3 separate regions of the Homo sapiens genome follow, and all the other regions are linked to region 1. Evidence: promoter capture Hi-C in 16 types of primary human blood cells and fetal thymus (Javierre and others, 2016). All regions are on one chromosome and are shown on one strand. The core of a region is centred on a gene start or on the middle of the fragment in contact, and the rest is flanking DNA. Distances in the headings are between cores, read along the strand shown.

What was found. Contacts are between HindIII fragments. The CHiCAGO score rates a contact against its expected background, and 5 or more counts as called.
Region 2: a contact is called between a fragment that was not itself captured here and the fragment with the promoter of HOXC-AS2 in region 1, in 3 of 17 cell types (total B cells, naive B cells and fetal thymus). The highest score is 7.7, in total B cells.
Region 3: the fragment with the promoter of HOXC12 here is called in contact with the fragment with the promoter of HOXC-AS2 in region 1 in 2 of 17 cell types (naive B cells and total B cells); the score reaches 10.2 in naive B cells.

What each region holds. Positions count from the first base shown.
Region 1 is chr12:53,994,887-53,999,040 of GRCh38, reverse strand. It overlaps HOXC-AS2 (HOXC cluster antisense RNA 2), which reads left to right and starts at 2,256. Exons shown (of 3, transcript NR_047505.1): 1 at 2,256-2,371; 2 at 3,132-3,208; 3 at 3,523-3,833. It overlaps HOXC-AS1 (HOXC cluster antisense RNA 1), which reads left to right. Exons shown (of 2, transcript NR_047504.1): 2 at 1-19. RefSeq lists an enhancer at 3,256-3,824. The HindIII fragment of the contact is 15,520 bases long and covers 1-4,154 here.
Region 2 is chr12:54,045,067-54,049,220 of GRCh38, reverse strand. It overlaps a transcript of HOXC4 not described here. Among named protein-coding and RNA genes, the nearest start is that of HOXC4, 6.7 kb to the left of the region's middle. RefSeq lists an enhancer at 1,881-2,780. The HindIII fragment of the contact is 4,043 bases long and covers 219-4,154 here.
Region 3 is chr12:53,952,816-53,956,969 of GRCh38, reverse strand. It overlaps HOXC12 (homeobox C12), which reads right to left and starts at 2,067. Exons shown (of 2, transcript NM_173860.3): 1 at 1,431-2,067; 2 at 1-642. The coding sequence starts at 2,040. The coding sequence ends at 404. It overlaps LOC105369775 (a long non-coding RNA gene), which reads left to right and starts at 543. Exons shown (of 3, transcript XR_944977.2): 1 at 543-628; 2 at 1,003-1,079; 3 at 2,691-3,585. The HindIII fragment of the contact is 3,202 bases long and covers 1-2,973 here.

The DNA.
Region 1 (4,154 bases), core at 1,007-3,506:
AAAATTTTTATGAGGATCATTTGATTGTTCATAAATGTATCTTTCATTAAATAAAATTGTAGGCTGTTTTTGGAACGGGAAAAAAGCAACGGAGGAACAGGAGAAAGCAATTTCTTTGGGGTCGGATGCAGGAATTCCAGAGGGGGCAGTGTGATTGCAGAGGAATATCAGACAACTTGGATTCCTCCCCCCAATAAGTTGGTTGCTACCCTCCTCCTTCAATTGAGGGTTTGTGCCCAGCCCTCTGCTTTGCATCAGACTGTCCCATGGTGGTGTAGTAAAGGGGGGCTTTAGTCAAGTAGGAAATTATCAGGGTGGGTGAAGAAGAGGGGGCATGGAGGTTGGCTGGGGGGTGGGGAGAAAGGGACAGGTGAAACCCCCAGAAATATGGTGCACTTAGGCAGGGTAGAGTGAATTTAAAGGAGGGGTGCAATTTCAGGGTCAGAAAGGAAGAGTCCCAGTCTGTGGCCAGGGAAAATAGACAGGAGCTGAGGTTGAGATGCAGGCTCTGGAGGCAGCAGGGTAGGAGTCTTCCCAGACCCGGCCACGCCTGCCCTTCTTTCCCTCTCCTGTCCCCAGGAGGGGACCAAACGCCAGGGGTAGGGGCGGGGGCTAGTTTTCTCCTGCGTCTCTATGGATCTTTCTCCTCTGGGGTGGAGAGGGGCTGGGGAGAGTGTGTATAGTATGTGTGTTCCGGGGGGAGGAAAGTTAGGGGGAGACAGCTGCAGCTGGCAGCACCGACCCCAGCTCCATAGGCCCCCTCCCAAGTCTCTGCTCCTCCCCCTCTCTGGCTCTTTCCTTTTCCTTTTTGGTCTAAGGGGGCGGCTTAACGGGGCTGGGATTTCAACTCATGGGGGAGGATGAGGGATGTGTTTGGTTGGGGAGAGGCGACTTGGGGGTTCAGCTCCTTGGCGCCACTGTCTTCCCCTCCCTTGAGCTGGACTGAGCTGGGAAGCCCAACTTACAACAAGAAACAGAATATCTCTTTGGCCTTGATGGAGTTGGGTTAGCTGTCAATCAAAAAATCTCCCTCACTAGTTCAAGGAAAAGACAGGAGGTTCCAGTCCCCCTGCCGAGGCTTTCTCCAAATCCCCAGTACAGCCAGCACCTCCCCCAGCCCAGGGCGGCTGAGGACCGGGCCCGGCACTTGGGCGGCTGCTGGCAGCGATGAGCAGAGACGTTTAGCCCTCAGCGGGGCCCGGGGCCAGACTGAGACCAAGAGGACATCAGGGGACAGAGCCTGAGAGAGACTGAACCCGAGACAGCCTGGGACAGACCAACTGAAACATGGAGTCAGGCCCAAGAGAGGAAAGAAGGAAGCGGAGCATTAGAATAAAGGGAAAAAAGGGGGAGAATTAAAAGAAGGAAGGCAAGATGAAAAGAGATAGGAGAGCCGGGAAAGGCAGGCGTGCAGAGAGGGAGGCGGAGGAAGGGCGGCCGTAGGCAGGCAGGACGGGGCAGGGGCGAGCTGGCGGAGCAGCCGTGGCATTGTGCAGCCCGCTGGCTTGCCGGGCCTTTGCCGCGGGACCGGCTCCGGGCGCGGCGGCCACTTCTGTCTGGACACAAAGGCGGAAGAGGGCTCCTCTCCTGCCCCTCCCAGGAGACTTGCTCGGATGGGTACTCTAGGCCTCAGGGATATAGAACCCCATATTGGTCCAGACAGCCGCTTAGGCAGCTGGGGGCTGAGCCCTGCTCTATTCAAGGAGCGAAGAAACAGAAGAGGAAAGAGGTTTCACCCCTGCTCTTCCTTTGCGTCTTCTCCAAGCGACAAGGCCAGCTGCCCCAGCCTCAGCTTTCCTGGAGGAAAGAGTCCCTAAGGAGCCTCCCCTATGGGCCTCTGCTATTTGGGAGAGTTCCTCAAATAGACATTGGGGCCGTAAAGAGATGCCCCCTTCTCTCCTACCCCCTTTGAACACCGCCTTCTTTTCAACTCTTGAGCTGCCTGCGCACCCTGCCTGCCCACTCTGCGGAGGCGGCAGCAGCGGGCAGTGAGGCTCACCGGCGGGATCCCTGCTGCCGTGAAATCCCCTGTGAAACCAAGGAGATTGTCGCTTTCCTTTATTTTATTTTATTTTCTGGGACTATGACCTCCGAACTCTTCCCACTCAGAGGCAGGCACGGCTGTGGATCAGGAAGCAGGCCTCGCCCACAGCCCCTTCCCAGCCAATGCCTCATTTTCCCTGCGCCCTTCGGAGAGAGGCGGCCTTGGGGAGGGGGGCTAGAAGAGGCTGGGAGTTCCGGAGTCCACTGGGCGGAGGTTCCGCAGGTCCACAACTGCATGTGGCCTGTAGCCCCCATTCTCCACATTTGGAGGGGTGTGGGTGGCAGACCAGGGCTTTGAAGCGGACCTGCAGATTTCCCTCAAATCCAGGTTTGTAGGTGCGGGGGGCGGGGCACAAAGGATATAGGGGCACCAAGAAGGAAGGTCTGTCTTCCTGGGGTTCAGTTACTCCTTCTGAATCTTCTGCCATACTCCAGACTTCCCCTCACCCACATACTCCCTTCAATTTTCCTCAGCACCGCTGGGGCAAACCCAGGGACTGGAGGCCACTGGGAGTTCTTGTTGGGGAGGGGGAAACCCCAGCTTTAGCTCGCAGCTGTGCATTCACTCTGGTTCTTAGAGTTCCCTCCCACCCCCAAAAGACTTCACTGGGCACAGGAGAGACCCCTGAGGGGGAGGGGCACCCTTACTCCATCACCTGAAACCTGGGCAGCTGCGGCCACAACCAAACTAGCACCGTGGGAAGGACAGACAGAAAGATAGACAGGTTAGAGTCGTCCCCTCCCCCTGCCCCGCGCCTTCCTTTTAGTGATTTAAATTCCCTCCGGTTCAATCCACACCGTCAAGTTCGGATTAAATTTAAAACAGGCTTTCTCCGGTGTCCCCAGCGGGCCATCCCGGCTGCCGCAGGCAGGGAGCCCGCTCCCGGCTCGTCAGCACCCGCCCTGCGCGGAGAAGGCCGTACTCCATTTGCTTTCATTTTCCTTCTCCCCCTGAAATGGGCTCATTTCACCTCTCCACTGCCCTCTTCCCCTCCCCGCCCCCTCCCTGGTTCCCCTCTACTTTCCCCCCTTCTCTCTCCTGATCCCTCTTTGTTGGGAAAAACACACCCACACACAACTCCTCCTAGCTAAGGCCTGCGCTGGAAGCAGAAACTGAGTTCTCTTGGCCTGCCGCGAGGAAACCCGCGTCCTGCCCCCACCCAAGGTGGGTATCTGGGATCCCTACACACCAGGAGTCAGGTCCCGAGGCCCAGCAGGAGTGAAATCCCCAGGGCCTGTGAACGTGGCTCTCTCAAAGCCACGGCCTGCCGGGCCTGCATTCCCGCCGGCGCCCCCGCCCTGACGCTCCGCAGCAAGCGGGGCTATTTCCGGCTCCCCCAACGCGGTCTGGTTTTCCAGCCTGGGAGTGGCTGGAGGGGGAGCCGCCCCAGAGCTAGAGCCGCTCCCTGCCCTGCCCGGAGCCCCAGTGGCCCTGAGCGCCTTGTTACCTGATCTTTTGTGTGATGTATGTGTCGCAAGGAAATTTGCAGTGACTTTGGAGCCCAGACTGAGGAAGCGGAGGTGGCGAAAGGAGAGACAATACGAGCCCGAAGTACAATTAAGGGGCCAGAGCCGCTCGTCTCTCCCCCGCCCTCCCTGCCCGACTGCGAGCTGTCTGGCCTCAAACCTCAGGGCGACACGCGAACCTGGAGCCGGAAACTCAGCCCGTGGCAGAGGGAGTCAGAGGACTCTGCATCCAGAAAACAGAAGCAAAGCGCCCTTCCAACTTGGGGACGCCTTAACCAGCCCCTCTCAGTTGCAGATAACCCAATGAATGAAAGTGCAAATTCCGCCGTTTTTCCCGATTTTTTTTCCAGCCTTGGGAAGGAGAGCTCAGGGTTTGGGGCGTCTCAGACAGAAAGGCAAACCGCATCTCCTGAGGCAGACAGACCCACAACATGAGTGTGAGCCTGAGATCACATACAGGTTCAACATTTCCCGAGGCCTCTTTGCCAGGCCCGGCGGGCGCCGATCTCCCTACCTTCTCTCCCTCCAGGGCCTCAGGCAGAGAGACCCAGAAGACTCTGTCCCTCTGGTTTGGTCCAATCCCGCTTCGGAAGCGCCTTCGTTACCTGGTCCTTCGCTCCCCACGGCCATAGATACAGGACAGG
Region 2 (4,154 bases), core at 991-3,490, 50 kb before region 1:
AACTAGTTATAATGTGGAAGGGGAAAAATGAAGGCCCTGGGCTAACGAATCTGATGTTTCATTTTTATGCTGGAGAAATTGTTAGTTAGAGGTTGGGTTCCCCACCACCTTCCTCCCTCATCCCAGCCTCATTGACCCCCACCCCTCTTCAAGACTGCTGGATGATATCCTTTTTAAAATTTGGTTTGGGGTGTCCCTTGCTAACTTTGATGCAAGCTTTACTTCTTATTATGAAAATTGTTGTTGTTGAAAATTCTGATGTGTGGATGCAGGAACCTTGCTGTGCGGCAGGTTGGTGACCTGAATTTCTTGCTGGGGAGGGGGACTTTTATTTTTCAAGGAACCTAAATGTGGCTTGAAAAGATCTAGAAATCAGGCTGGCCTTAGGTTAGTTTATGGAGGGGTCCCTGGCCTGGTACTCCCAGTATTAAAGAGATGACAGGAAGCTGGAAACACTTTTAAGAGTTTATGAGGGTATCTCAAAGTGCCTTAATCTGTTCTTGGCCTCTGAACTGCCAGAGACCCATGAGATTATGCACCCAAGACCAAAGAAGGCAGAGACTGGGAAAAACTAAGGATAGAGAGAGAATTCTACAGTAGGCAAGGGAATCCTGGGTCCTCTCCAGGGTCAGCATCAGAATTCATGAGGACTTGGTCGGGTCACCTCTGTTGCTTCACAAGAAGGGTGCTCCAGAAAAACTCAATTCCCAAAGACCGTGCATTTTAGTAAACTGGAGAGAGCCAAGGAAAAATAAGTGGGGTGATGGAGATTTTATAAGGTTTCCCTTTTTCTGGAGTTTTTAAGGGAGGGAGAGGAAAAGGCAGAGGAGAGGATTGGAGGTCTTTATTTTATTTTCCCCAACCATAGTGAAGTTGGGGAACCCTTGACTCCCCCAGAGAAACCTCTGTGAGAAAGAACTTTGGAGAGCGCGGTCTCCTGGGCTGACCCAGCCATACCAGATCATTACCATGATTAACCTCAATAATAAGATCTTCCCCTCACAAAACACAGCTCCCGGTGTGCCTTTTTTTCTCTTCCAGGAGCTGTTCTTTCTCCTTTCCAGCCCAAAGGGGTCCAGTTTGCTCAGCCCCAAGCTCTCCCTTTAATAACCCCGTCTGCCTCGCACACCCCTTCCAAGCCTCGGCCCATAGATCAGAGTCTTTCCGGGCATGCTTTGAATCCTGGGTTGGAGGAATCAAGGCCGAGAGAGATTTCTTAGTGCCTGAAACTGGGGTGTCACCTCCCTCCATCCCCTCAAACCCAAAGGCAGCATCTTGATGCCATTTGGGTTCGCAAACTTGCCTTGGCAAAATCGTGGCACCAGTGGGATCTGGGGAGCGGCCTTCAACTGCAACTGCGCGTCTCAACCCCACAAAAACGGGAAAGTCGGAGAAGGGGCCATCGGAGGCTTCAGGGTCTGGCCTGGGAGAGGGCACCAGAGTCTGCTCTTCCTAGCCAAGCGGGAATCAATAGCGATGTGTTATAAACTTCCCCGAAGCCCCTCCGCGCGCTCTGGTCCTGGCGGGCGAGCCACGTCCCTAAGCCGCTCGCCAGCCTCGGCCTGCACCTTGGCCGCCTCCTCCGAACCCGGGACCCCCAGCCTTGGGCTTCGTCCCCTCCCTGTTTTAATTACGTGATTGATTTCCGCTTTGGCCGCCTCGGGACGCCTCTGCCTCCGACTGTTTAAATCTTTCGGCTCCTTTTGTGTATTTCCGAGTCCTCCCGGCGGGCTGTAATTTACAGGCGGCCCCTCGGCGGCCGGCGCGCACCTCGCGGCCTGGGTCCGGGGCGGGCTTCGGCCTCGCCCTACATTCCAACGAAATGGTCCTGCCGCGGTGCTCGGGAGACCGGCTCTGCAGCGGCCCCGCGGCGCGGGACTCTCAGGCTGTGGTCCTGCCCATTCGCTTTCTGAATTATTTTGTGCTCCATTATTCTCTGATAGGAAAACGTTCCCTGTGTGGGTTATCCCTTCAGGCCTGGCCTCAAAGCTGGGCTCTCCGCGGTCCTGTGCTTTTCTCCTCCCCCGAATGAGGTGTGTGTTGAAAGGTCTGGATTAAGCCCGGAGGAAGCGCGACGCCTGGCTCCAGGCTTGCGGGGAGCTAGAGCCCCTTCGCCTCAAACACCTGGGCCCTGCGCTGGCGGGCGAGAAGCACCAGAAGAGATGCGAATTCGGCCACAACTTTACGCCAGTCAGCGCGAGAGGGACCACAGGGCTGGCGGTCCCCACTGCGGCCCCTACCCCGCAGTAGGCGGTGGATCTGACTTTCGCTCCACAGCCCAGAGGCCTCCTCGCCCTGGCAGCCCCAGCGGGCACCTGGCAGCAGCCTGGGGTGGCTGCGCGCACCTCCGCCCGGGAACACGCTGTTCAGCCCCTCCACCCAAGGGATTGAAGGTGAGGCGAAGGAAGGGAAAGAGGGGAGAAATTGATGAGAAGGGTAGACTTAGGGTGGGGAGAGAAAGGGGAAGACAAGAAATGAAGAAAAGGAGCCCCTTCTCCCACTGTGGCTGACTTCTTTCCCTTTCTCTTTTTCCTCCCCAAACTGCTGGTTTTCCACTTATTCTCTCATTTATTTACAACAAATAAACATTGCTCTGCTTATTCTACCACGTTGTGTTCATTCTTTGATCTTTTCTAACGAGGCAGCAATGAGTTACCATTAACTGTGTATATATATATATATATTTCCCTCAAGGAGAGAAGGGGATTGGGAATGTCTTTCTGACTGGGAAGAAGTTCAGTGACACTTGAGTTGGCCACAACCTTCTCCCTGTCCCCTGACCTACGACACCCCAATACTTGTCCCCCAGGCCCCCTCCCCCACAGCAATGTTGCCGGGTAAATAAGAGTCCGCCTGCCTGGCTATTAGGATTCTGGAGACGTTGGCATCTGTAGCAATCATTAGTCAAAGCCGCGGAAGCCAAAGGAGCCGAGGAGTTGGACAGAAAAAATCTTGGAAATGATATACAGGAGACGCGGAGGCATCAATCCCAGCCGATAAGAGCGGGGCTGCTGGGCGCAAGGCGGCCGCTTAATTGGGCCCTGGGCACCGAGAACAACTGGGGAGGAGGAACCTATGGGTTGTGCAGTAACCCTGGCATCATTTGGGCACCCTATAAAAACAGTTGGGGACTTGATCCCTTTTTCCCCCACATTTCAAAGGCCCAGTGGGGGGTGTAGGGAGATATACAAGCCCCTGTCAGCCTCTTGCCCTGGGGATCCAACAGGAACTGGGCTGGAGGACTCTCCCCTTTCTTCTCTCCCCCTTCTTTTTAGTGGCTACCTTGAGAGGTAGGGAGCTTCGGCTTGGATCTCAGGTCACAGAGGCAGCCTGGAGGCAGTCTATGACCCCTAGAGTAGGTTTTCGAGGGACAGATAACTTAGTGGGACTAGATTTTGGAGATGGCCTTAGAAATAGAGACAGAATTACTTGCTTTAATAAGCCAAACATCCAAAATATATTTGTTCCCTACCCCCACTCACCTAATATCTTTTTATATCATAGACACAGAGATAGAGAGGGAGACAGAGAGATGCAGTAAGTTTAAGTCCTTCTAGAAGGGAGATCTATGCCCCTATACACAGATGCATGCATTATGAAACCATCTCTAAACATATGTTCAAACATGTAAGTTTTTCAGCAAAAATGCAAAGACTGTAAAGATCTCTAAATATGTAGCTTCAATATGTAGCTATTTTATGGGTTAGGATCCTTGCATAAATCTAGATAAAATTTTCAAAATAGACATTGAACACACACATAGTTCTTTCCAACAAAGAAAAAAATTTCCAAATATTCACTTAGGTGTTTCAAGAGAGCTGTACCAATACATCCTAGCATATACATCCAACCACTATAGAAAGATTGGTAAAGTGCACACAGGAATTTGACCGAGGACTGTTATGTTCACTATGGATCTATAAATCTGCATTTAAATGTGGAACAAAAAGGAATATAAAACATACATCCTGATATAGACATAGAACGATCTATAAATACGTTTTCACATATATAACTATGGGAGCGCTCAGCTCTCTGTGAAGATTATTTGCATGGAGTCCTAGGAATGAAGAGGAATCTCTAGTGCTTGTGGGTTTGGGGTATCCCAGCCCAGGCTTCTCTGAGAAAGAAATGAGGGTGGACTAGAGACTTCG
Region 3 (4,154 bases), core at 818-3,317, 42 kb after region 1:
TCTTTGCTCCTGACGGCAAAGAGAATTAAGACCATGGAAGGGAAGTAGAGGAAGGGGACATCTGGGCCGCTGCTTCTCCAGATCCTCAGCGGAGGTGCAGTGCCCCAGTCCTGCCTCAAATAAACCAGCCCGCAGCACCTCAGCCTTCCTGCCCCTGCCAACCGCAGGCAGCTGCCGGCTTCTGCTCTCCCTGGCTAGGTTTCTTCCCTTCTCTCTGGGACCTGGCAGGGTGTTTTGGGTGTGTATGGGAGGGAACCACGAACAAAACAGACAAGAGGATATCCAGGGAGGGCCTGCCAGAGACGCCTGGCGTTCTAAGTGGGGACTGTGTTCTAGGCGGCGCCCTCTTTTGCTCTCTGCCAGGGACAGGCTCAGTCTGGGGCTGGCGCCCGTGTCCTGCACCTTAAAAGAAGGAGAGAGCTTGCTCCCTCAACAGAAGTCTTTTCTTTTTCATTCTCCGGTTCTGAAACCAGATCTTGACCTGCTGGTCACTAAGATTCAAGCGGTCTGAGAGTTCCCTCCGGCGCTGGCGTGTGATGAACTCGTTGACCAGAAACTCGCCCTCCAGCTCTGCCAGTTGCAACTTCGAATAGGGCTTGCGCTTCTTCCGAGAGCGGCTGTTGATCGGGTACCAGGGCGCGCCTGGGTGGAGATGAATGGCAGGGGTTGGCCAAAGGATCAAAGGGTGACCAGTCCAGTGCCCTTGGCCCTTCCCCAGACCCTTTCACCTTCGCCTCACAGCTGGACTCCAGGCCCTTTCTCTCCCTTCTCCTTGCCGCCAGTCATCTGAATCGTCTTTTCTACCCAGACCCACATCCCCACCAACTCCCCCACTTTCTTTACTCTTTTTTTTCCTTTCATTCTTTGCTCTTACCTCCTCAACCCTACCTCCTGCTGCACTATTCATGACCCTTCTAAGTCCCTATCCCCTCCTTTTTTCCCAAACCTCTCCCCAATTTTCTTCTTCCCTATTTCCTGGTCCCTTCCTCTCACATCCTTCAGGACTGGATCCCGGATCAGTTACAACAGATATGGGCGAATGGCAGAGTAAACGCATCCACTGGCATTTCTTTCGAAATGTAAGTAATGGGGTCTGTGGGAAGGTGGAGGGAGAGGCGCCTGGGAGAACTAGGGCCGGGCTTTCTGTCCCCACCTCCTCACCCCCAGGCCTGGGGAGTCCCCGTCAGGATCCCCCAACTCCGGAATCCCTGCCGCCTCCAGCCGCAGGCAGACGAAAAAGGAACACTCTCCATTTCTTTTGTGGGGATGTTTACATGTTTATAGGCTCCCCCCACCCGCACTTCATTTTATAAGAAGCTCTTCCTCGCCACACATTCTGTCACCCTGGGCGTCCCTAGCTCAGTCCTGTTCTGCCCGCCCTGGTAAGAGGTCGGGTTTGAATCCGCCGCTTGAGTGGCCGGGGTCCTTACCGCTGGCCGAGAGCCCGCCGCCGGGGTTCAACGGCGATACCAAGCTGCCGGGGTCGCCTGCGCCGGCGCCCTTGTTGCCCTCGTTGAGCAGGGACGAACTGGAGTCGGATTCCAGCGACTGGCAGGAGGGCGGGTCGTGCGGAGGTCCTGCGCCGCCGCCGCCGTCGCCACCGCCGCCGCCCGCCGCGTAGTCGTACTTGAAGCCGAGCGCAGGCGGCCCCGACGGCTCCAGCGGGAGCAGCGCTGCCCCGGGCCCGGCTCCCGGGTCGCGCCCGCGCTCCTCACGCTTCAGGCCCCCGCCGCCACCCTCGGCGCACGGCTCGCGGTAGTAACCCTTGCCGTCCTCCACGCGCGCCAGCTCGCACGTGCGGCCGAAGGGAGGGTTGAGAGACACTGGGCTGCCGAGGTAGGGCTGCGGGTAGCCATTGCACGGCTCCGCCGACGGCCAGGACAGGGAGCACACGTTGTCGCGGCGTGGGTAGGACAGCGAAGGCAGCCCGGGAAGCTGCGCCCCGGACGCGCGGAAGTTGGGGAAGTAGAAGGTGTCTCCCGTGTGGATGTTTACCAGCGGCCCCACAAACCCGGGATTCAGGAGATTATGCTCGCCCATTTCCGCGGGGCCCGACCGGCAGCTTCTACTTTATTGCTATCTGACATTAAACATAGTTAAATCTGCACCAGTCACCCATTGGCCGCCCCACTCACGTGGGCACGGCCGCCAGGGGGAGGGGTGGGGACAACCGATCCCCCCCCCCCACCATCCCATCCCGCACTCTAACTTCCCCCTTCCCCAATCCTGGGGGTGAGTGGGGTAACAAAGGGCGGGGGCAGGTTTATTTGCTGAACTGATTTTCTAAAACAATGTATATAACCTAACGCAGAGAGTAAAGCAATTGCCCAACACGGGGCAAAAGGGAAAAAACACACACCAAAAAATGCCCGCATATATACACCCCTATAACCTGCACCCCCCCCCATATATTATCTTATCGCCAACAGCTGGCCAAGCACAGCCTGTCCCTCTTTAATTAGCTTCTTTATTAACTAAAACCGTTGGAATTTACAATATCTCCTCAATAAATTACTATTAGATATTGTGTCATATAAAGTTTACTGACTGTTTAAGGAGACGGATGAGCCCTTTGGCTCGGGGTTTATTTACAGTAGAGGCGAAGTGGGGGTAAGGACAGGTTTCCCTGCCGTTATCTCTTCCCGCCCCAGCTGCTGCTGCACACTTCTTTATCAGCTCTTTATCCTCAGGAATTTGGAGAGACATTTGGAGTCCTCTTCCCCAATACTCAAGGATAATTGATAATGCCGGGTTTTCCTCTGGAGCCGGGAGCCACCCAGCCTCACACCTCCACTCACGGCTAGAGGAAGGATGCGGAAGGGAGGTAGAGAATGCAGCAAAAGGAGGTGCCTAGCTCCACATGGACCTGCCTGCCTGCTCCTGAAAATCTGGGGGCGAACTACTCTTCTGCTGTCATTTCCGGGGAACTGAGGAGCTTCTGGGGGCCTCCTGGAGTCTTTGCAGTGGGAAGCTTTGGACCCCTAACAGGGCTTGACTGGGCTGAGAGGGGCCTAATTCTCACTGCGGAGGAGACAACTGCACCCCAGAACCGGCCAAGCCTGCCCCTGGGACCATCAGATAGCAGTGCAGAGGCCCGCAGTAGGTTGCCTCCTGAGGGGGCTAGGATTGAGGGAAAAAACCCTTGAAGAATTATCTTATTGGGGGGTGAAATTATATTTATGGTGCAAACTCAGAAGCTCCCTCCAGAGAAGGCCGAGAAGCAATGCTGGCCATTGGTGAGATAATCAACATCTGCAAAACCACAATCCGATCTCAACTAGGTCCACAGAACACAGCCAAGCGGATTAAAAAGAAAGACAAAATAAAACTCCCCCAAACCAGATGTATCCTTTTGGGGTCTAATAGAAAAAACACTCGAATTTCCATGTGATTATTTCGAGCTTCTAACCAATGCATGGCTTAAGTAATACAGGGTTGGATAAATAGTTCAGTAAACGTCTAAATACGAAAAAATACCAGAAGATTGAAAGAAAATTGGAGACAGAGATTCGGAGAGAATGAGAAAGAAACCCATTTAGGTGAAAGTTAAATATCAGAGAAAGCCTGAGAATAAGCCAAAGCTGCAAAAGCAGATCGAAGCAGAGAAGATTCTCCCTTTTTTTCCTCTCCCTCCCCTCTCTCCTCTGCAGGACGCGGCAGAGAGAAACGCAGATTCTTTGAATTCCACCGCTCCCCGGGCGATTTCATATCCCAAACCGTAGCTGCTCACTCCGACAGAAATGTGTCCCCGCGGGCGCCGCCCTGCCCGGAGCAGTTCGAAGCTCGCAGCTCGGTGCCTGTCCCTTGCCCTGCTTGGCCGGTTCCCCTTCCCCGCCCCTGCTTGCCTAGCTGCCCGGCCTGGTCCAGCCCCTCCCGCCCCCAGGAGCCGGCCCCGCGTTAGGCGCACTTGTCGGAACTTAGGGCAAGCCATGGGCTGCAAACCCGAAGCCGCCACCTTCAGTTAGAGCCGGTGGCGCCAAGGAATGAGCAGGAGACTCAGCCTGGATTGGCCTTTTTGTGCCTAACTGATAAGGGGCTGGGAGGCTACGGAGAGGAGCATCTCTCAGCTGCAAATTCCAGGTCACAGCATCTGTAACATCTTATTTCCCCTTCTCAAGATACATTGATGAGCGCCATTGAAATTTTAGTTTTTA